2 separate regions of the Homo sapiens genome follow, and region 1 is linked to region 2. The links are contacts of gene promoters, found by promoter capture Hi-C in blood cells and fetal thymus (Javierre and others, 2016). All regions are on one chromosome and are shown on one strand. The core of a region is centred on a gene start or on the middle of the fragment in contact, and the rest is flanking DNA. Distances in the headings are between cores, read along the strand shown.

The links. Contacts are between HindIII fragments. The CHiCAGO score rates a contact against its expected background, and 5 or more counts as called.
Region 1: the fragment with the promoter of LRRC40 here is called in contact with a fragment that was not itself captured in region 2 in 1 of 17 cell types (monocytes); the score reaches 5.1 in monocytes.

What each region holds. Positions count from the first base shown.
Region 1 is chr1:70,204,248-70,207,599 of GRCh38, forward strand. It overlaps LRRC40 (leucine rich repeat containing 40), which reads right to left and starts at 1,332. Exons shown (of 15, transcript NM_017768.5): 1 at 1,143-1,332. The coding sequence starts at 1,293. It also overlaps a transcript of SRSF11 not described here. RefSeq lists enhancers at 926-985, 1,246-1,555. The HindIII fragment of the contact is 8,465 bases long and covers 1-3,352 here.
Region 2 is chr1:68,481,295-68,484,607 of GRCh38, forward strand. DEPDC1 (DEP domain containing 1) reads right to left here. Exons shown (of 12, transcript NM_001114120.3): 7 at 2,656-2,796; 8 at 752-1,603; 9 at 146-318. It overlaps DEPDC1-AS2 (DEPDC1 antisense RNA 2), which reads left to right. Exons shown (of 2, transcript NR_198991.1): 2 at 1,467-2,410. Among named protein-coding and RNA genes, the nearest start is that of DEPDC1-AS2, 3.8 kb to the left of the region's middle. The HindIII fragment of the contact is 2,836 bases long and covers 231-3,066 here.

The DNA of each region.
Region 1 (3,352 bases), core at 82-2,581, 1.7 Mb after region 2:
TGATAGAAATACAACAAAGCACAAAACAAAGCTCACTGACTTCATGATATTAACCTTTTGGTTGGAGGGCAGAGAAAACAAAAAACATAAATGATATAAATTCTGATAGTGATAAATGCTGTTAAAAAATTAAACAGGTAAGAGAACAGAATGTTAGCATGATAGGTATGCAAGTTTAGAGAAAAATGTTTCAGGTTTTGGGGAAACCAAGTAGATATATATATATGCACAACTGTAGTTTGAAAATGAGTATGTTCCCATTGATCAAAAACTCTTTTAGGTGGAGTAAGGATTCTGTGTCTTTTCATTCATTCAGAAGCATTTGCTTGCCTAATCTACTTTATACATGTCACAATAAGAAAGCAATCATTAGAAGGAAAATGGAAGGTTTTAATCAGTCTTAAAACCTAAATATAAATGAAGAAAAACATTACAGGAAAAATGCTCTATTTCTCCATCTCTCCATTCCCCTCCCTCTCTCTCTTACACACACACACACACACACACACACACGACAATCAGAAGAGCATCTGGCCATTCATTCATGGTACCCAGATTTGTGCTTCTTGGTCTTTAACAGGTTTCTCAGGATGTCCCCACATTCAAACACTCTGTGTGGCATCTATCCTGATCTTCAACTTAGAAAATATACTCATTATTCCTTGTAAGTAGAACTCTGCACAGCTGCATACAGAAGAGCGTCTCGGCAGGGAACAGTGCAGGTTCACAAAGGGGCCGATAAAACATATAATTTTAGCTTTGGTAATTGCCCTTGAAGATTACAATAAGAGGAGGAAAATAAGGGCCAAAGAAACAAAAGATTTGCCCGTGATTTGATAGCTGGTTTCGTCACATATTATGTTGCTTATCCCACAGAATGTGGGAATCCCAGAAAGCGCCCCGTTTAAATTTAGACCGTATTTTTAGCAGGGTCCCTTTAACAGAGATTGCGGGAACCTGGGAAGGAACTGAACTGGGCTAACCAAACCGGTCGAAATGAGCACAGGGATTAGATTAGAGCACAGAAATTCTGGCTAGCAGTCTGAGAAAGGGGGCCAAAGCCAGCCCAGAGAAAAGGGAGGTTGCCTGGGCCAAAGGCTTTCTGACAGGAGACACAATAGGGTCGTACCTCTGGGTCTTACCTTCACTGAGGTTTCTACCCGACAGGTTTAACTGGCCGCTCTTCCTCGCTGCCTTCAACAGCCCTTGGGGTACCGAGGTACCGCAGTCTCTTCCACCTGCTTTGAAACCAGCGCGGAGATCCTGCCCCGCTATCCGCTTCAGGCGCGACATGTTCAAAGTCCTAGGTCCAGAAGCTGCAGCCCCACCCGTGACGCTTAAAGGTGGCGCCGTTGGGATGCCCCGCTCCTTTCGTGAGCGCGCGCTCTGGGCGCTGGGCTCGCGGCCTCGCGCTGGGCCTTCACTCTCTGCGGCGCAGTCCAGATGTCGTCAGCACCAGCGCCTGGGCTGGAGGACAGAGAAGCCTTTTCCGTTGCCGGTGCCGGCCTAGCGTCCTGGAATTACTTCAATCAAGTAAGTGCGTTTAACGGGCTTAAGAGGGGCTTTCGGGTTTATTGTTTGCACTGTTACTGCGACTCCAACCTTCTCCTCTGTGCTTCCACCGTGGCGAGGGTGTGGGGAAAGAGAACCCTCTCTTCTCCCCTCTCCTAGTCTGAACGTGGGCCTTGACTAAAACTTGAGATCTGGGCGCGGTCGGCAGCGTTTCTGGACCCCAGCCTGTGTTTGTCGCTTGTGGTGGTGGCGCCAGACCTCTGGCGTACGGAGTAAAAGAAATTTTCTGTTCTTAAGGCTTGTACTCTGACACCATTCTCGTTGTATTGAGGGTATATAGCTTACCCAGCAAAGGAGGTAATGTGAAATGGAAGGACTGGCAACATAGAAGACAAAAACAAAAATCCTTAAAATTTAATAAATGTTCTGTGTATCAGACAGTTTAGGGAGACAAGTAGTGGTACATGCTTTAGTGAAGCTCAGACAGCTTGGATTTTTGAGCCCTAAAAAGCAAGTTCAAATCTCAGCTGCTTCTTTACTTTAGAAACTGTTAACTTTAGGCAGTTTACTCAACCGCTTTTAAAGCTCATTCCTTTTTTTCATTACTTTGGGGATAATTCCTACCGCATAAGGTTTTTGAAATAAGTGAAGATAAAAACTAGAATCTTGAGCTCTCGGTGAGTCCAGAATAATAGCAAATGAAAATTTTGTTCAATGTAAGTCGGTGTTTCCTAGGAAATTAAAATTTTCATCTGAAATGTACAACTTCTTGATTCAACAAGTAATTATTAAGATTAATCCTGCCTAGTATGTGTACTATCCTGGGTGCTAGACTTTTCTTTTGCCTGAAATGATTTTGTTTTAAAAGCATATGCCAGGGAATACCATTCTAACCCCCATCAAGTCTACTGAGGATTGGTAGAATAGTTGAAAGCTAGGATGAAGGCCCTTTGATCAATTCTTCATCACGCACTTTTACCTGAGTCCAGGTTATTGCTACCTGTAAAATTCGGTTTTTAACTCTACCCTTTTTGTTCTTATTTCTGTGGAGTCCTTTACACTAATATCGAACAAGAGAAAGTTACCAATAGTTGTTACCCTACTAAAAAAGCAAAGAGTGGATTTTTGTCTTTTTTTTTTTTTTTTTTTTGAGACAAAGTCTGGTCTGTCGCCTAGGCTGGAATGCAGTGGCGTGATCCCGGCTCACTGCAACCTCCGCCTCCCAGGTTCAAGTGATTCTCCTGCCTCAGCCTCTCCAGTAGCTGGGATTATAGCCGCGCACCACCACACCTGGCTAATTTTTATATTTTTTAGTAGAGACGGAGTTTCGCCATGTTGGTCAGGCTGGTCTCGAACTCCCAGCCTCAAGCGATCCGCCCAGTTCGGCCTCCCAAAGTGCTGGGATTACAGGTGTCAGTCGCCGTGCCCAGCCTGAGTTTTAAAGGAAAACGACCGTAGCAGCTTTTGCAACGTTATTAATGAGGTCCCTGGTCAGCTTGTCTTCACAGTAATGGTAATAGCTGCCTTATTGGGCCCATACCAGGCTCAGTGCTAATAATACCTCTGTTTGCTATTTCTTATTTAACACAGTGACTAATTTTGCAGATAAGGAAATTGAGGCTAAAAGGGGTGAAGAAACTTACCCAACCTCACAAGTTTCTCTGAATAGCACGACCAGGAATTTGAACCTAGATCTGTCTCCAAAACCTTTCTTTTTAATCACCATGACTTCCCTAGTGGCTTTTCATAATTCCCAACTTGCTTTTTTTTTTAATCCTGTAATCATTGTAAGAGACACTTCAGTTGTTTTTAAGAAGATTTCTTTATTAAAGAACCACCT
Region 2 (3,313 bases), core at 399-2,898:
GCTAGGAAAGGTTAAAGAGCCTTTCCAACCTAAGAATCTAGCACTTTAAGACTAAGACATCACTTGAGTAGTACTTTTACGTAGTTTGGTTTTGTTATTTTGGTTTATGAATCAGACTTATTCTTTCTATAAGAAATCAACTTACCAGTGACCTCGTACCCATTGCATCATGAAGTTTGGGCATATCAACATTTTGACTCATTCGGGAAATCATACGCATTAAAAGTTGAAGCTTTCTACGATTTGGTGGGGGAAGTAACAAACAACATAACTGTAGAGCATCGATGGCAACCCTCTCTAAATGAGGTTGCAGCAAGCCTAGAATACAAAAATACCCCCCCAAAAATCATCAATGACACTAGTTGCTTTCATACTACCAGTATATACAGCTATATAAAGAAGGTAAAATAATATCTTAGTATTTCATCTTTTAACTATTTCTAGAAATTACGTTCCTCTAAAGCATGGTAAGATTCTCATTATTTTCTTTACAACTTATTTCTAAGTATTAAAATTCTTCACTTATTACAAATAAAGTGACTCAGAATAAATGAAATTGCAAAAAAGAAAATAAGTTCCTTAGGTAAACAGAATAAATCTTGGTTATGTCACAGACAAAAGTCTTTTTAAATAATTCCTCTTGGAGGAAAAAAAATTAAGCAACTTCAAGGAAGAAAAGCCAGGTAAGCAAAACACAGAGTTAGTAAACACTCAAAGTTAATATTGCATGCATTGAAAGCAACAGCCTTACTTTGTGTGCCAGTCAACATAGAAGAAGCTGGAAGTAAAGAATTTTCTGAAAGTTCTATTGTACTTTTGCAGAGTCTTTTATTGATTGTGGCACTAGACTCTCCGAGTTCACTTTCCATAGCTGTTTGCACACTTGTGCTGCCTTGTCCAACATTTGGTTTCATGATAATTTCAGCCACTGGTGTATTGATATAACTATTCCTTCTTGTACTACTTCTTAAAAGCAAACTCTGAGACCTACAAAGCTGTTTTGACTTGCATTTCCCATTACACAACTCCTCTTGGTCTTGAACAGTCAAAGTAGAGGTTCTCTTAAAACCAGCACTGAATGGCTTTTGAATATTTTCCTCTGAATGAAGATTCAACAGGAATTCCTGTTTGGGCTTAGACTCTAAAAACAGTTTATTATTTTGTCCTTCTATGTTCGGAAAAGATTGATGAAAGACACTGGATGCCTCTTTACTTGAATTCCCTGGCACATCTACAATTCCTTCCAAAGAACAGCACCTTGGTTTGCTGTTAGAGGATAGATCATGCATATTACTTAACCCTATTAAATTATGACAACTTCCTCCCATTATGTCATTAGCACTCACTCTTCTGTTTCTTAAATTAACTAGCTGCATTTTCTTAGCACATCTTTCTTGAAATCCTGGATTGCTTATCTGTAGTCTCTCAGTAGAATCTGATTCTTCTTTGTTTTTTTCTCTATGAAGCAGACTGAGAAGAAGGCACTCAGTTGATTTGAAGGAATTCAAATTGTTTAAGTGAAGGAATTTTGAAGACTGTGGATCATCTTGAATTTTATGTATCCCACTGGATCTATCTGAAACTGTGATGTAGCCACAAACAACTACCAGGAAATGAAACAAAAATTAAGATGCAACTGTATGACAGTGGACAAAAATAAAACAAAAACAATAGTAAAGTTAAAAAATAAAGCATTACTATAGTATATATTGTTAGTATAGTATACACAGTAGTTGCTTAATTCAGAAGCCACTTAAATAGGACACATGCAACATTCGGTTACAAACGTGCAAGACAGATGAGTGGTTTTCCCATTTGTAATATAACTTTAAAAAATTATTTCAACAGCCTAATTAAATGGATTGAGCCAGAATACATTTAAAAAATCTGTTCTCAGTCTGCAAGTACTAGAAACCTCATAAATATAAGATAATTGTGGTATAATAAAATACATATATTTGATCTTTGTCCTTGGTACCTGGTATGGAGCTCCTAAAATCCTTGAAATTTCCTGAATGATAGAAGTCTTTAGTTACTCATAACAAGCCTATTTCAGCGTATCTGAGTTCATGCTAAGGTAACTGAGGGCCGGCCATGGTTTGAATTTTCATCACCAACTACAACCTTGTGGGAGGAGAAAGGGGCTAGAGATTGAGTTCAATTGACAACAGTGACCAATGATTTGGTCAGTCATGCCTTGGTAATTAAACTTCAATTAAAACTCTAAAACATGCAGGCTGAGGGAGTTTTCTAGGTTAGTGAACACATGGATGTGCTGGGATCACGGCATGACCAGAAAGGGTAGAGAAACTCTGTGCCACCCCCACCCTCATACCGTGCTCTGTGTAACTCTTCCATTTGGCTATTCTTGAGGTCTAGCTTTTATAATAAACTAATAGTCATAGTTAAAGTGCTTTTCTGAGTTCTGTGAATCATTGTAGTGAATTATTGAGTCTGGTAGGGGGTTGAGGGAAGTCCCGAATTGGTAGTTGGCTGGGCGGAAGTATGAGTAACCTCGGAACCTTATTTCACTGAATTTTAAAATAATTTGTAGGCTGCCACCTTTATATTTACCTATGGTTTTAGATCTTCTAAATTATAAGAAAGTTGAAAACTTTAACAAAATGAACTAAAATCAGTAAAATCTATACATACCCAAAATGTTTACAAATAATTCGTAATATTCAAAAGTAAGTAGAGGTTCAGGGAGATCTAGAAAATAATCTGCGATTGTTCTGAATACATCTCGTTCAAATCCAACATAAGTTGGATTATTCATATCATTGCTTCTTGGCCCTAAGAAGTAGAAGGCAAGAGAAAAAGGTAAAGTATATTTTAATTTAAATACAATTTTTAAACATAAAAAGTATAAAATCTGTATTTCATGAAGGAGCTAGGTTTAACAACAAATTCTGCCACAGTTCAAAAATTTAAAGGGTGTATTTCATTCTTCCTCATTATCTTTCCACTGGAAGCAGTCAATTGCTAGTATTTTGTTTAACATTTGTATACCTGAAAAATCATACATAAAGCAAAATTTTAATATCATTTTAAAAGCATTAGGGAAGCTTAGTTTAATAAGATTTTATTGTAATTCATTTTGTAAAGGAAAGAATATTTGGACAACACAAATAATTCCTTCAAATTGTCTTTTTGTAAATTTACATGTTCATGAATATATTTTGTCTGACATGAAGCATAGCCTTAATGAATTTAAATAATATCTTTACATTGTTGTTTCTTAAGCTTGACACAACTATTGAAATAATCATACCTACTCATTTGTGTTTTCCTCAAAAATAAGATCTGATCT